Linked DNA regions of Homo sapiens: all the other regions are linked to region 2. The links are contacts of gene promoters, found by promoter capture Hi-C in blood cells and fetal thymus (Javierre and others, 2016). All regions are on one chromosome and are shown on one strand. Each heading gives the region's core, a stretch centred on a gene start or on the middle of the fragment in contact. The rest is flanking DNA. Distances are from core to core; before and after follow the strand shown. Region 1 has its middle 4.2 kb from the start of ANKRD22. Region 2 holds the start of CH25H (cholesterol 25-hydroxylase). Region 3 overlaps LIPN (lipase family member N). Region 4 has its middle 5.7 kb from the start of STAMBPL1. Region 5 overlaps STAMBPL1 (STAM binding protein like 1). Region 6 overlaps LIPM (lipase family member M).

Region 1 (2,700 bases), core at 95-2,594, 350 kb after region 2:
CATTGAGGATTATTAATCTAATGCTAATGACCCTCAAAAAGCTTAATCTCTAGTGTAACCCTTACTCTAAAACTCCAGAATCATATAACAAGCTTTCTATTGGCATCTCCACTTAGTGTGCTAGAAATATGTTCCTTAAATAAAATTTGTGCATACCTGAGCTAATCATCTCTTCCCAGGCTTTCCCTAATCTTGCTCTTCCAGAGTTTTCTTTGAAAGATAAAAATCTACCAAATTTCCAAAGCCAGATACATGCATATTATCCTTGTTCTGCCATTTCCCATGTATCTTATATCAGATGGATAATTCTGTTATTTCTAGCTTCTAAACATCTCCATAGTACTATGTTAGTCCAACTTAAGTAAAGAAAACAACCTAGTTATTTAAACACAAAGAATTGAATGTCTGGAATTGGTTAAGTAGGTATTGGAAGACTAGAAAGTAAAAAGAGAATATTAAGGTAACACAGAGATAGAATTGCAGGAACAGCTACCACCCCTTGGACTGAGGGAACAGAGTGAGGTTGGGGTTATTAGAACTTAGGAGAGAAAAGGGCCTTGAAATTCTGGGCCCCAGGCCTTGAGGAGGGGCCATTTCTTGGTAGCTGCTCATACCTCAGAATCGCAAGGAAGGAATTGCATGAATTTGGGTTCGGGGAGAGAAACAATTAGTGCTGGGCACCTCTGAAAGGTATAAATAGGCTGGTTCTGGGAATGTGGAAAATAAGCTCGATCAATTGCTTTTTCTTGGATGAAGAGCTATTGGTGGGATGAGGCCGATAGGATTGCAAGCATATAGAAATGAGTAGATCTCTTTCTCCCTCTTTAGCGTTGTAATCTCACATGGAGTGCTCCTTAGAAAATAGACCAGGTTTCAAGAAAGGGTCATATATGCAAAGCAATCTCCAAACAAGGAAGGAGCCAAGAAACCAAATAATAAGGCAGACAAAATCAGTTTTTTGATAAAGGGTAATTTATTGGGGGAACTTACAGACAGAAGTGTGGCCTGCAGTAGCAAGACAAATAGATCTCCACACCAATACACCCCAGACCCCGGGCTTATATATCATAAGGAAAGGGGATACATGCTCTATAGAGACAATTAAAGACAACCCCCCAGAACAGGCAAGAGTGCTGTGTGCATCATAACCTATATTTGTGTGATAACATCAAGTTTGCTTTGGTCTAAAGGCAGGATTTACAGTAAGTATGTGTTCTTACACTAAGGACAGTAAATAAAGTAGGAATCCGAAGGCATTTATGGGACTGGGGTTAATGAGAAGTCAACATGGTGGATTAGCATCCAAGATGAAGTTAATTTTGTCTCCACATACCAGTAGGAAAAAAAAAAAGCTAGCTTGCAGAATGCCAGGGTAGGCATTGAAGAACCAAACATAGAAAAGTGTGTTCAATGCTAGGAGATAGCTTAATAACTCATAGTTGGCAAAGTCTGTTATTTCTACCTCCTAAACTCTAGAGTTTATCCTATTCTCTCTATCCACACTGCTGCTCTTCTGCCCCAGGTAACTATTATCATGCAGCTGACCTAATGCAATAACCTCCTAACTAGTTGCTGTTTCTTTTTTCCTGCCTCAGATCCACTCTCTGTACAACAGCCAGAGTGAGCTTTATTATATAAATAAAATTCTGATTACAACACTCCTCTACTCAAATCTCTCCAATGGGAGCCAATTTTACAGTAAGTAGCTAGTCAGACATGAGCAGAGTAGGAGAGGGCTCCCCCCACCCACCAGGAATGTCAGGTGAACATCAGGTGATAGTAAGGAGGTTGTTAACCGTCTCTCTAAAATAATAGTTGAGGGCCAGGCGTGGTGGCTCATGCTTGCAATTCCAGCACTTTAGGAGGTCGAGGTGGGCAGATCACCTCAGGTCAGGAGTTTGAGACCAGCCTGGCCAACATGGTGAAACCCCGTCTCTACTAAAAATACAAAAATACAGGTGGCAGGTGTCTGTAATCCCAGCGACTCTGGAAGCTGAGGCAGGAGAATCGCTTGAACCTGGGAGGTGGAGGTTGTAATGAGCTGTGATTGTACCACTGCACTCCAGCCTGGGCAACAGAGCAAGACTCCATCTCAAAAAAAAAAAAATTATATATATATATATATATATATATATATATATAAAATAACAATTGGTCACAGCCAGTGCCAGGGAAAGGCAGTCTCCCAATAGACAGAAAAAACTTGAAACTGGTGATCAGCAGCTTCCTGATAAGATCTCAGGAGTTGGGCGAGTGGGTTCAAGCATGCACATTAAGAGGCAGAATGGCAGAGTTTAACTGGTATATTACCTTCTAGGGACATTCAGCTGGTAAGAGAAGAGTGCTTCAAGTAAGCATGCATACAACTCCAGTAAACACACTGTGCATGCTCCCCTCCCAAATCCTGGTGGGCCACTGCACATGTGGACAGCCCACCAAAGGGCAGAATCAGGGGAGAAGGAATGCAGGACCCTGGAAGTATGCCAACGTATAAAAACCCCGAGTCAAAAGTCAAACTGCACACTTGTCTTTCAAGTTGCCCACTTGGTCCTCTTCCAAATGTACTTTACTTTGTTTATTCCTGCTCTAAAGCTTTTTAATAAACTGTCGCTCCTGCTCTAAAACTTGCCTTGGTCTCTTCTTCCATCCTATGGCCCCCAGTTGAATTCTTTCTTCTGAGAAGGCAAGAATTGAGTTTGC
Region 2 (2,700 bases), core at 55-2,554:
TATCCCCTAAGGGGCCCTTGTATCGTGTCATGTGTCAGACCCCGGGTTGAACGCGAGGATTTTTGTGCTGTTCCCAGGGTCTCTCAAGAGCTCTCCTAGTACCGACCTCCTTGTGCTCGGTGGCCCCTGGCCCGAGGACCCCAGATGGGTGGCGGAGAAACGCAGGGGATAGAGACTAGCCCCCTAGCCGGGCTCCGTGGGCCCGGAGTGGATTCAAGGACCGGTGGCAGAGGGCGACTGCAAGTTGGCCCCGCAAAGCCAACAAGGGGAAGGGTAGGGTAGTGACGACATCACCTGGTCCTTCAATAGCCTCCCGGGAGGCTTCAGGAACTCACATCTCTTTCCCTTGACGAACAACGCAGGTGGTTTGCTGAATTAAGTGTTCCCGCCCCAAATTGAGATACAACGGGCTTTTTAGCCAGATTGGCGCAGACTGGGAGTTAAATCCAGCATTTTCCCGGCAAAGCTGAGCCTGGCCGCCGCGGAGCCCTCTTTCCGCTGTGCGGTGCCTCCGGCTCCGATCGCGGGCCCGGCGCCCCGGGACGCGCCGCCGAGGGTAGCTACGCGGCCGGGCTGCGGCCTCTCCCGGAGAGCCTGCGTGCGTGGTCTCTCTAGCTTGCTGCCCGCCGGCCAGGAAAACTCTGGGGACAAGCTGGAGCTGGCGGAGGTTCCCATCCGGCCACCCTTCCCGTCTGATTTCCTGAGCTGACGGTCACCGCCGGCGTTCGGGGACCAGCGGTTCCCTGTGCAAAGGGCTCGTTTCTCGATCGCCGCTGGATAGACCGCAACCGGGTTCTCAGAAAACACCCGAGCTACAGACCGCATGTAGCTTTAAACAGTTTTTAAAATGCGATTATGCTTGCGTCTTTATGAAAGCACATGGATGCAGTTATACGTATGCATTAAAAAACACAAACAATTCTGCATTGATTGCAAAGGAGCGCTTTCTGGTGGCAATGTAAACGGTCTAGTTTGAGACCCGTGATGACACACGTGAACTGAGTTGCCAAACTCATAGAAACTCCACACGGTAGATCTGTACATTGTGTCCCGTGTTAATTGTACGTCAACTGAAAAATCAGAACTTACATGAAAAGTACGAAGTGCCACTGCATACACGCATATCTAAAAGCCGGTAAGATGCGGCTATAGATGAGCACATTTACAGCAATGAAGGGCCACTCTGCCGGGTTGCTAGCTTATTCAAGCTTCGCATCGCCGGGAAAGGGATGGAAAGGCAGCTGACATCACTCGGGGCGGGGCCGTGAGTCCTGTGAAAAGTCGATGGGACTCGAGCAGCAGCCTCAGCTGCCTTGCACAGCCTCGCAATGAGCTGCCACAACTGCTCCGACCCCCAGGTCCTTTGCAGCTCCGGGCAGCTGTTCCTGCAGCCCCTCTGGGACCACCTGAGGAGCTGGGAGGCCCTCCTACAGTCGCCCTTCTTCCCGGTCATCTTCTCCATCACCACATACGTGGGCTTTTGCCTGCCCTTCGTGGTCCTGGATATCCTGTGCTCCTGGGTGCCCGCCCTGCGGCGCTACAAGATCCACCCTGACTTCTCGCCATCCGCGCAGCAGCTGCTACCTTGCCTGGGGCAGACCCTCTACCAGCATGTGATGTTTGTGTTCCCCGTGACGCTGCTGCATTGGGCCCGCAGCCCGGCCCTCCTGCCCCACGAAGCTCCCGAGCTGCTCCTGCTGCTGCACCACATCCTGTTCTGCCTGCTACTCTTCGACATGGAGTTCTTCGTGTGGCACCTGCTGCACCACAAGGTGCCCTGGCTGTACCGCACCTTCCACAAGGTGCACCACCAGAACTCGTCCTCGTTCGCGCTGGCAACGCAGTATATGAGCGTCTGGGAACTGTTTTCTTTGGGCTTCTTCGACATGATGAACGTCACACTGCTCGGGTGCCACCCGCTCACCACCCTGACCTTCCACGTGGTCAACATCTGGCTTTCCGTGGAGGACCACTCCGGCTACAACTTCCCTTGGTCCACTCACAGACTGGTGCCCTTCGGGTGGTACGGGGGTGTGGTGCACCACGACCTGCATCACTCTCACTTTAACTGCAACTTCGCTCCGTACTTTACACACTGGGACAAAATACTGGGAACGCTGCGGACTGCATCTGTCCCAGCGCGGTGATGTGGCTGCGGTGGGTGCCCCTAAGACTCGGGACTGCTGTGCCTTTCACACTTGAATGAAGAGAAACACCTGAGCTATATATTTTTTTAAAGCAACTAACTTATTGCTTTATGTTTATCTATGAAAACCATAGATAAAATCTGATGCATTTTTGTAATCTGACAAAGTAATTTACATACTGTTTGTGTATCAATACAATTTTGTGTTCTTGGTATTCTTAGTCTAGCTCACCTCAATAGCCTTGAATCCTGCATATGAATTAGACATTCATCACTGGCATATTTAGAATATCTCTAAAAGGACTTGTTTGTAGAATAAGGAATTTTCTATGTTTCAAAGTGTTCTAAAACCTGGCTAAAAGAATGTATTTTTGTGGATGGTGTTGACTTCTGACTCTAAAAGCAATCAAACATGTTTCTGCTGGACAGTGACCAAGAATTATAGTACCTTCTTATATTTTTTTATAGAACTGTATATTTATTTTGAAAGAAATGTTATTCGTGCTTTAAAAAGGAAAAAAAACCATGAATCAAATAAGTATTGACTTCCGTTT
Region 3 (2,700 bases), core at 56-2,555, 430 kb after region 2:
TATGAGATACTTTGATACAGTCATATAATATATAATCACATCAGGGTAAATAGGGTACTCATCACCTCAAGCATTTATCCTTTGTGTTACAAACCATCCAATTATACTCTTAGTTATTTTTAAATGTACAATTAAATTATTGACTATAGTCACCCTGTTGTGCTATCAAATACCATACAAGTGCTTATTTTGATTAAGCTTATTAAGGCCACATCATATCCCAAATAAATAATCTTTCTTAGCTAAGTTGACTGCTTTGATAAGGAAAGAAATTCACACACCAACTAAAATGGCCAATATGTGTAGAAGGTACAAAAAGAAGAAAGGTTTGACTCCAGAATTCCTCCATAAATGGAATTTATGGACAATCTTATAGGAAATAGAATGGAGGAGAATGATGAAACTTTCTTGAAGGTGCATTCCATAGAAAGCGTACTGTTTTTATAGAATTTACCTTTTTATATCTATATACTAAAAATTGTTGGTGTTTTATATTAATACTTCACATAGATTTTTAATGATTGCACACTATTATTACTGTGATTACTTTTATTTGGTTTGGCTCTGTGGGAGATATGATGATGCTGATGGAGGTTTTGACAGAGCTAAAGACATGTCACATCTTGACAATGGCTGGAGGAAGGACTTCATAGTCAATCAAGGTATAAATACTAGCAATCTGTTTTCACCCTACTCCAAAGCACTTCTTAAATCACATTAGAACTCAAAAATGTAATGAGAACCACGTCACTGTTTTGCAATCTCTAAATGCCAAATTAAAATATGAATCAAGGATTGTGTAGTCAAGTCAATGGGAACTCTGACTTGAGTAACATTTTCCCTTGAGGCAGTGTACAGATTACAAAAGGTATTAGCACAGAAAATTTAGCTTTGGGTGGGACTTGCAATTAAGTCAAATTAATGAATCTGAGCGGAGTGTTTTTTTTTTTATTTTCAAGACATGCCATTAAGCAGTGAAACACCAAAAAGATAAAGCCAAAACTTGGAAATAACCCACGTGTTTTTCAGTGAGTGAATAGTTAAACAAACTGTGGTGCATGCATACCGTGCAATGCTATTCAGCAATAAGGAGGAACAAACTTGATATATGCAACAACTTGGATAGATCTCAAGGACATCATGCTGAGTAAAAAAAAGCCAATATCAAGGCCACATACTCCATGATTTTATTTATAAGACATTATAGCAATGGAGAACAGATAAGTTGTCAGGGATCAAGTTCAAGGAGAGCTGGTCATGGTGGTAGTGGTGGTTGACCATAAAGGAATAGCAAAAGTGAATTTAGTGTGGTAATGGAGAGTTCTATATCTTAAATGCTTCTGTTTTCAAGCTACTTAAAATTTATTAGGGCAGTAGACTTACACAGAACTCTCCAAAAAGATAATTCAGAAGCATAATAAAAAGTGATTTAAGCTGGGCGCGGTGGCTCATGCCTGTAATCCCAGCACTTTGAGAGGCCGAGGCGGGGTGGATTGCCTGAGGTCAGGAGTTCGAGATCAGCCTGGCCAACATAGTGAAACCCTATCTCTACTAAAAATACAAAAAATTAGCTGGGCATGTGATGGGCACCTGTACTCCCAGCTACTTGGGAGGCTGAGGCAGGAGAATTGCTAGAACCTAGGAGGCAGAGGTTGCAGTGAACTGAGATCGCACCATTGTACTCCAGCCTGGGCAACTTCACTGGGCAACAGTGAAACCCTGTCTAAAAAAAAAAAGTGATTTAGAAGAGGGAACAGTAATTCTAGAACATATAGTTCAGGCAAAACGTTTCAGAAATGGTGGTATTGTGGCCAGACCTTGGAAAATGTGGGTAACCTTCCTATGAGAGGAGAATGCAGAGGTGATCAAAGTTGAACAAAGCCCTGATGGTGAAACACGTGCCTTGTTCTTTGGTTAATGAGTCTCAAAAAGGCTGTCACTTGAGCAAGACTTCGCCTCTCTGAAACTGATTGATTATACCGATTGAAAGAAATTCACCAATGTTCTGAGTCAGAATTTACATTTGACATCAATTTGTATTGAATAACATTCATGTTATTATTTACCTTGTTCTATTAAAAATAGCAATGAGATATTGAGGCTTGGGAAACTGGAGGAACCTGGTAAGTCTGTTTCAAGGTTGTGAGCCAAATTTCTTGCTTTGTATAAGTAAGAAAAATAAGGAGAAACATTGTCAACATATCCAAAAATTTGTATTACAAGTCTGTGGCCAAGTTCCCCATCAGTAAAGTGTTGCTAGACTCCATTCCTGCTTGGAAGTCATCTTGGTATTCCAGACAAAATAATGAAATGTATTATAATTAATCTGACTGCACCTAGCTCTAGTATTAGGACATTTTTCTGGACCCTAGAGTCCTCCAAGGCATGATTCTCCTCCTAAAAGTAAGCTTTTTAAGGCTTTCAGAACCATCAATTAGCCTACATAAAAATGTATAATAAAATATGTATTCTTTTATGTTTATCTTCCTTTACTGAATATTATGTTTGTGAGATTTGGACAAGTTGTAACATTATGTCATTACTATATTAAAAATTAAAAACTATTAATCACTCATCATGTTACTACCCTGACACAACTAATTTTATTTTTTATATTGCTTCAGTTTTCATTATATACAAATATTTTATAAAGTCATATAATTGTTTTAATATTTGTATATATTTGCAATCACATAGTTC
Region 4 (2,700 bases), core at 123-2,622, 330 kb after region 2:
TTATTTAAATGGCCTCCTAGAGATTGGTTATGGGCAATTATGGTTGACTTCTTTATACTATAATTTTAATTTTTCTATAAAGGACATGCTTTCCTTTTATTTTGGAAGAAAAAATATTTAGTAATTAAAACATAAACAGTCCTGGCGTGGTGGCTTATGCCTGTAATCCTAGCCCTTTGGGTGGCTGAGGTGGGTGGATCACGTGAGCCCAGGAATTCAAGACCAGCCTCTACTAAAAATACAAAAAATTAGCCAGGTATGATGGTGCACACTGTAGTCCCAGCTACTCAGGAGGCAGACGTGGGGGAATCACCTGAGCCTGGGAGGTTGAGGCTGCCATGAGCTGTGATACTGCCATTGGGCTCTAGCCTGGGCAAAAGAATGAGACCATGTCTCCAAAAATAAAAAATTGAAAAAAAAAAAGAAAACAGATTTGGCAGCCAGATAAATATGAAGTGGAATCTGCCACAGTACCTCATTCATGATGGGTACAATATAAATATTTGAGAAAAGGACAAAGGTAAGAATAAAGAAGAGAGGAAGGAAGGAAAGGCACATTATTTCATAAAGAAGAGTGATGAATTGAGTGATTGTGTCTCCCCTGTCATTTGCTTAGTTTATGCCATACATGGAAATAGGCCATTACATTCTAAATAGGTTCATTAACTAATGCTGCATTTGAGCATTTCCCAACTGATGACAAGTGACAAGACATTAATGCCTTTCTCACTGAAAGGGAAATATGGAGCCAGCACTCAGATTTTTTTCTGTTCTACAACATCAGAGCTAGATCTGTTCTGAGAAGCTGCCATAGCCTCAAAGTGTTGGTATTCAAGACAAAGAGGACCTTTCCTGCCTCTGACTGGTCTTAATATGGAGGTCTGTCACTCTATCTTTAAGGTACCCCAAAGGCCATGAGCTTGGAGTAATCTCTCGTCTCCCCATCTGGCAATGCCCTACTAGGATCTTATTTCTTCGAACTGATGGTACAAAAAGAGAATATTTAGTGTTGAATTTACCTTAGTCAGGAGATTAAAACTATTTTCATATACTGTACTGGAATCGTTTGGTGTATGCACACAAAGTGGTGGTTCTCATTGACTGTTCTTGCTGACACCAGATAGGCTGGAGTCCTTGTTCTTTGTTTTAAATTTAGAATTTCCAGGCTCTGGATTATCTCTAAAGACAAAGCATCCAGGGAAAGAAAAGAACTAAGACTCAAATGATTCTACTGGAAAAAAATATCCTTCTCAGAGATTATTATGCACTTTAAAGTATGTGCCTCAGAAATTGTTATATTATTGAAAACACATATTTTTAAAATTCTGGCTTTGTTATTGTTTTTATCAGTAGTTCTCAAAATATGGCTTAGGGATCCCTGACAGCCTGTAAGATCAAAACTATTTAAAAAAAAAAACCACAAACACATTATTTGGCTTTTTCACTGTCATTCTCATGGATTTGCAGTGGAGTGTGTCAGCTACACGTATGATATCACCACAACTAGAATGCAAATGCAGATAGGAGAATCCAGTCATCCTTAAGCCAGACTCAAAATATATTTGTAAAAATAGAAAGCAATGACAGTTTTCTCACTAATTTTTGTTTCGTTTTGGGAAATAAATTGTAATAAAAATGTGAATATTTATTTAGTTTAACGTCATTAATTTACTATTTTTAAATAAATTAATAAAATATGTTTAAAGTTTTTGCTTTATTTTTCAATGCAGTAAACATGGGTAGATATAACCCACAGAAACAAAAGCTCTCTGGAATCCTGAATCATTTTTAAAGATAGTTTTTAAAAACATAAAGAAACCTTTAGGCCAAAACGTTTGAGAAACACTGGTCTATGCTATTAAAGAGTAATAAGTTCCAAATAACCTATTTTTTTATTTGAGGAATTATAACTATGGTAATTTAGCCCGTGTCATTAAATGCAGGAAGCAACTCAATTGCTCCAAAACTGGAAATGGCAGGCACAGTTAATTTTTTCCACTCATGTGATTTATTTTGGTGCTTTCTTCCTGTTACTTTAAACTAAGACAATTTTGTATCCATTATGTCCCCATATCCAGATACTGAATGAGGTTTGGGAAATACATGGAATCTTTTCCTCTGCTGCCATTTGCAAATTGTCCTGGACCTAAGCTACCTGAGCTTATTTTTTCCCATTTGAAAACGGGGAATAATGGCTCTGGATTGCTCTTAAGGTAGTTATGAAGGAAGTGAAAAAGCATTCTGAAAAATTATGTGCTTTGCAGATATTAATATAAGGCTTACTACTAGTAAACATTTCAATATACAGGCAGACATTTGATGAAAAATGTAAATTCTCTTTTCTGCTGATATTATTTAACCCCTTCGATTTAGGTACATAAGGCATTGGTAAATGTGGACCAAATATTAATAGTGTTTGGGGTGTTAGATTTTTTTAAAATACCTTTTTTGCAGGCTGATTTACAAATGTAAAATATATGTTTACAAGGGCAGAAAGGTGGAAGGAGACCTGGCGGGAGGTCATAGAACAGCATCTGATCCCCACAATCAAAATATATAAATATACTCTGTAAAAATTGCATCTCCCCTGGGGCTGCTCCGGTGCAACAGAAATCCTTCCATCATAGACTTTTGCTATTATTTAACACCTATACAGTAGGTTTGAGCAGCTTCCTTTTAAAAGAAAAGTGGTAGATATAC
Region 5 (2,700 bases), core at 35-2,534, 310 kb after region 2:
ATAAACAAAGCTTTTTAGTGTCCTTAGTAATTAAGAGTGTAAAGGGGTTCCAAGACCAATAAAGTCTGAAAACCACGGCTCTAGATCAACAATGCAAATGAATAAACAAAACAAAAACTCACTATGCTACCTCAATCTAATCAGAAATAAAGTGGGCCAGGAGAATCTAAAACAGGAAAAATTAACAGCAAGTACCACTTGCCATTTGTGCTACTGTGGTCTTACTAAAACAATTAGAAAATTTGAACTGAGGGTACAGTAAGAGGTACTTCACCTCATAGTACTTGAGATCCACAGATGCTAACTAATGGGAAGTATTCAGTATCATGCAAGAATAAAATAAATTCCCCCTCCAAAGTGGAGGTCCAAAGTGCTACAAAGCACACGGTGCAAACAGCCTTTGGAGTGAGATAAGCCTGGGTGTTGAGTCTAGGCTCTATCATTTGCTTGCTAAATATCCTTTACTGAGCCCCCTCCAAGGTTTACTTTACTCATTCGGCAGGGCGCTTGTCACAGCCACACTTCGCTGCTTTTAGAGTGGCTTAAAACTAATGGAAAACATTCATCAGAAACGCCCGCTTTAATCTCAGCCTACTCCCTGACCTCTACCTCACATTCTTGTGGCTTGATAACATCTGATCATCTGAACTACAGCCTTGTGATCTGTTTAACCTCTAAGATATCTCTTCAGAGTTCTTGCTTCAGAGCTCTTGCCTTCTTGCTTTTATTGCTAGCCCCTTTTCCTGACCATAACCTCCAAAGACATCATCATTTTTTTTCTTTAATCTGACCTTTTATAGAGGAGTAGGGGAGTGTCTGCTTTCTGTTAATCCGACTCACAAGAATGTGGGGAATCATGGTGTCAGAACCATACATATTCACAATGAGCACATGGAGGCCAACCCCTGTCCCAGAGATTCAGCTAACAAGTAGCTCCCAGAACCAACTGAGCAGTCGACTGTGCCCAGAGGGGATGTGGCCAAAATGCTGTCTCATCCATAAGTGGCCTGGGAGGGGGTAAGTATCCTCTCCAAATTGGTATTTCACAGCTCTGAGCTTGTAACAGTTTATTCTCTACATAACCATAGCAAAATCCTCTTGGCTTTTGTGTCCCTGCAATGTTTCCAAGTCTGAAGTCCCCCATGGAAACATGGAAGAGTCTCAACAATTCTGCCCTTTAAAATCAGCAGCAAACAATGCAAGAATGAACAGAGGAAAATATCTGACCTAGCATGGTGCTTATTTTGTGATTTTTTCAGCCTTAATTTCCTTTTCTTTTCTTTCTTTCTTTTTCTTAAAATAGTGTGTGTGTGTGCGTGCGTGCATGTATGTGTGTGTTTGTGTGTGTGTGGCAAAGTTCAGAATCCTGACCCATTTTCATCCACAGAGAAATATTTTCCAGAATTCAGAAAGCAGATGATTACCAGGCAGTGAACGGTCTCCTAAGAGACTCAGCATACAGTAAACAGCCAGCGAGACCATCACCCAAATGTGCCATTTTCTCCCAGGCACTTCTTTTGACTTGAGTGCCCTAGTGACCTGGATAAGTAGGTGTGGCCCATTGGCAGTTAAGAGAGGACAGAGCACCTTATACCACCTCCAGCAGTCTCATTTCTAATTGGCCAAACCAACAGCCACTGGGTTAGTGGTCATGTTTTCCAGGAAGAACATGGTGCAATTTACTCAGTTGGAGGTAGACAAAGAAAATTATTGTAACTCAGCCTGTAGGCTGCAATGACCTAATCTGATTTAGATAAAGAGAGGTAAAGGGTCATTCCCATGTCTTAAATGACAGAGACACAAAGAAGGATCTCCTGAGTCACAGTCTTACAGATTGGGCCCTACTTCAGGAAAAATAAATAAATCTAGGCCCACCCTTCATGTCCCTTTTGAAGGATTTTAAAAATTCAGACATCAAAAGCAAAGATTACATTGATTTGTTTTTACACTTATCTTCTATAATATCTGCAATCAGAAATATGCTGTGACATAGATGATAAATTATCTTTACTAAAATATTGATAAGATAAAAACGAAATGATCATAATATTAGAAATAGCTTTTATTGGATTTTTTCCCTATATTTGTAAGTACTATATATTATCATTTACTAGGTGCCAGGTGCTTGTCTGTTACTTCTAGAGGTATATTCCACATTAAATATACCAGTCACAACAGAATGGTTTATATTAGATCAATGAGCAAGAATGTAGTTGTTACAGGAAAGATGATTAAACAAACCACTCCTGATGCATGTGTTAAATTACCTTGAGGTAGATCTAGGCTACTGTGAGTGCAAGAAAGTCACATACTGGGCCATAAAATAATTATTTTGCATAGTGTAATACAAACTTTTTATCCAGCCACCAAGATGAAGTGGTTCGGTGCCCTTAGCACGAAGAGCTCAGGTTTGGGGGCCATATACTACTTTAGGAGGGGCCAGTTTCTATCACTAGTTGGGAGTGCTACAGCAGCTTATTTAACCTTTTTGTGCACCTTATCTTCATCTATTAAATAGGCACAACAATAGCTTTCCAGAAGAATTCAACTAAAGCTTAAATGAGGTAATAAAGTTCCATTATAGTTCCCAGCTTGCAGGAAGAAACTCAAAGAAAATCAGTTCTTTCTCACAGCAAATGTTGGAGAGGTGAGGTTAATGACCTCTGCTAAAAGTTGACTTCTATTACAGATATCAGATGG
Region 6 (2,700 bases), core at 167-2,666, 400 kb after region 2:
TGCTGTGTTGCGGTGACATGGGGTGACCCACACCTGTCTTCTTAGGTTGCACTAGGCCTCGAGGAATCCTGTTAACAGAAAGGATATACCCATCTTCAGTTGCGACTTCATATTCCTCACAGGGATAGCCTTGATGTTGGATGATTTCACTCTATGGAAAAAGCACAATTTCTTTTAGGTTCAGTTCTCTGTGGCCATATTCTCAATGATCCAAAAGTAAGAGTAGATTCCTTGATGCTGTAAAACACAGTGAAAGTCCTTGCTTTTCCCTAGCTAATCATGTTACCTTAGAAAAATCTGCTAACCCTCTCTAGTCCTTACTTTCTTTGTCTTAATATGGAAACCGGAATAGAATTATGGTTCTCAAAGTATGGGCCTTGGGACAAAGGCATCAGCATCACTTGGACTAATCTGTTAGATATGCAAATTCCAACCAAACCTACTGAATCAGGAACTCAGAGGACTGGGCCCAGCAGTTTGTGTCTCAAGCTCTTTAGGGAATTTTGATGTACCCTAATGTTTGAGAACCACTGGATCAGAACATTGATTCCAAAACCTCGTTGTGCATCAGAATCTTCTGGGCATTGAAACATACAGAGTCTTGAGCCCACTTCAGGTTACAGATAAGATGGTTCTAAAGCAGCCAGTGGGGCACCTGTTCCAGGACAACTTATGAGCATTCCTGGGCCATGCATTTCCTAAGGTTCTTTCCAGTTCTAAAACCACAGACTCAAGAGCATTGATTCCTAACATTTTCAGGTTAAAGTTCCCTCTGTGAATTTGAGGAGAACTATAAAAATGGATATACAATGGATACAAAAACATGGTTTTGCATTCAATTTCAGGAGTTTCAGATATCTTGTTGCCTACATACGAACCCCTGGTTAAGAATCCTTACTCTATACAGTAGTTACATGTAGACATTCTCTGGAAAATTTGTAGCTGCAAATATCTTCTAAGCATCCTCACTATTCTTGCCCATTGTTATCACTCAGAGAGAAGGAGAGAACCATTTGCATCAGGGGCTGCTTTAAAAAAGAGCAAGAGAGAAGGCCAAACATCACATGCCCAGGTAGAATATAGGGCAAAAACAAAGCATAGTCATTAGGAGAAAGCTCCTGGGTCCCACTGTTTGAGTTTTAACACTGGTTCTAACACTATTACATAAACTAGCTGTATAATCTTGAGAAATTTAGTTAAACTGCTCCTATGCTTCAGTTCATGCATCTGTAAATTAGGAATTCTAATGGTTCATACTCCATGGGACTGTTGCAATAAATGCAAAAAGATAATGCACATATAACACTAACTGTAATTCCCAGCACATAGTAGGAACTCAATAAGCATTAACTACCACTATAATTAAAACTCAATTAACCGAATATTATGGAATGCAGTGTATATGTGTGCATGTATGTGTGTGAGACACCATTGTATACTTAACCTTAAAAAAATGTATAGGCCGGGCACAGTGGCTCACACCTGTAATCCCAGCACTTTGGGAGGTTGAGGTGGGTGGATCACAAGGTCAGGAGATCGAGACCATCCTGGCCAACATGGTGAAACACCATCTCTACTAAAATAATAATAAAAAAAATTAGCCGGGCGTGGTGGTGCATGCCTATAGTCCTAGCTACTTGGGAGGCTGAGGAAGAGGAATTGCTTGAATCTGGGAGGCGGAGGTTACAGTGAGCCAAGATCGCGCCACTGCACTCCAACCTGGTGACAGAGGGAGACTCCATCTCAAAGAAAAAAAAATTTATAGAAGTGTCTCAAATTTTAGCATGCATCAGAATTACTTAGAGGGTTTGTTAAAACACAAATTGCGGGACCCCACTCACAGTCTGATACAGCAGGTCTGTGTGGAACCCAAAAAATTGATATACAAGTTCCCAGGCAAAGCAGATGTTGCTGATCTGACAACTATCCTTCAGGAACCACTGTTGTCAACTATTTGGGGAGTTAAATATATATAAAAACATGAGAATGGAGGACATCTGACAAGTAGTTATTGAGAGGATATGTGTAATGTGTCAGATGAGGGATGAAGGATGAGAGTGAAGGAAGGAGCAAAGGAATTCTGAGCAGGAGGAGCAAAATGAGCAGGGCTGGACAGGCAAGGTCTTATGGAGGAAGAATTTGAACTGGGCCTTGAGGATTGAATAGAAGTTGCTCAAAAGAGCCAAGGAGGTAGGGATAGGGACATGGACATCTGAGAAGAAAAAGAACTACAAATGCTGCAAACATTGTCTACAGGTGGCAAGATGGTCAACATGCTATACTTGGCAGGAAAATTTATGCAGGCAATAAAGGACTGGTCCCATCCACTGGAAGTGCTGTCAACAGATCACCCTTGGCTGTCATTTTCTGTAGGAATGGCCTTAGCTGTAGAAAGCCACTTCCTCCAAGTTCACGTCCCTTCCTGCCACATCCAGTGACTGACCTGTTTGCGGTCTAAAGGCCTGGTCATCTCAGCCCAACGTAGGACATCTCTGAAGAGCAGTTTTAGCTCCATAGCTCCTCATGGAGTTGAGTCTGGCTGTTTTGAAGTCTGTATCACAGTTTGATTTATCTCTTTCCTTACTCCTGATTCTCTACTTCCTTTCCACAGGCGATGATGATGATTCTCCTTAATAAACATTATTGTATGAATTCTGCCTCAGAGTCTGTCCCCCAGAAAATCCAACCTGGGGCAAATAC

What was found. The method cuts DNA at HindIII sites, captures the fragments that hold promoters and counts their contacts. A CHiCAGO score of 5 or more calls a contact.
Region 1: a fragment that was not itself captured here is called in contact with the fragment with the promoter of CH25H in region 2 in 2 of 17 cell types (total CD8 T cells and erythroblasts); the score reaches 6.2 in total CD8 T cells.
Region 3: a contact is called between a fragment that was not itself captured here and the fragment with the promoter of CH25H in region 2, in 1 of 17 cell types (activated CD4 T cells). The highest score is 5.3, in activated CD4 T cells.
Region 4: a contact is called between a fragment that was not itself captured here and the fragment with the promoter of CH25H in region 2, in 2 of 17 cell types (activated CD4 T cells and neutrophils). The highest score is 5.9, in activated CD4 T cells.
Region 5: a contact is called between a fragment that was not itself captured here and the fragment with the promoter of CH25H in region 2, in 1 of 17 cell types (total CD8 T cells). The highest score is 5.1, in total CD8 T cells.
Region 6: a fragment that was not itself captured here is called in contact with the fragment with the promoter of CH25H in region 2 in 1 of 17 cell types (activated CD4 T cells); the score reaches 5.3 in activated CD4 T cells.

Annotation. Positions count from the first base shown.
Region 1 is chr10:88,854,714-88,857,413 of GRCh38, reverse strand. No RefSeq gene overlaps it. Among named protein-coding and RNA genes, the nearest start is that of ANKRD22, 4.2 kb to the right of the region's middle. The HindIII fragment of the contact is 2,500 bases long and covers 95-2,594 here.
Region 2 is chr10:89,205,921-89,208,620 of GRCh38, reverse strand. CH25H (cholesterol 25-hydroxylase) reads left to right here and starts at 1,304. Exons shown (of 1, transcript NM_003956.4): 1 at 1,304-2,700. The coding sequence starts at 1,329. The coding sequence ends at 2,147. RefSeq lists an enhancer at 1,463-1,532. The HindIII fragment of the contact is 3,745 bases long and covers 1,211-2,700 here.
Region 3 is chr10:88,779,507-88,782,206 of GRCh38, reverse strand. LIPN (lipase family member N) reads right to left here. Exons shown (of 10, transcript NM_001102469.2): 10 at 2,581-2,700. Among named protein-coding and RNA genes, the nearest start is that of LIPN, 21 kb to the right of the region's middle. The HindIII fragment of the contact is 2,210 bases long and covers 201-2,410 here.
Region 4 is chr10:88,873,236-88,875,935 of GRCh38, reverse strand. No RefSeq gene overlaps it. Among named protein-coding and RNA genes, the nearest start is that of STAMBPL1, 5.7 kb to the left of the region's middle. The HindIII fragment of the contact is 7,787 bases long and covers 1-2,700 here.
Region 5 is chr10:88,895,478-88,898,177 of GRCh38, reverse strand. The region is part of intron 1 of STAMBPL1 (STAM binding protein like 1); the gene reads right to left. Among named protein-coding and RNA genes, the nearest start is that of STAMBPL1, 17 kb to the right of the region's middle. The HindIII fragment of the contact is 2,544 bases long and covers 13-2,556 here.
Region 6 is chr10:88,805,749-88,808,448 of GRCh38, reverse strand. LIPM (lipase family member M) reads right to left here. Exons shown (of 9, transcript NM_001128215.1): 2 at 34-151. Among named protein-coding and RNA genes, the nearest start is that of LIPM, 4.4 kb to the right of the region's middle. The HindIII fragment of the contact is 3,495 bases long and covers 1-2,700 here.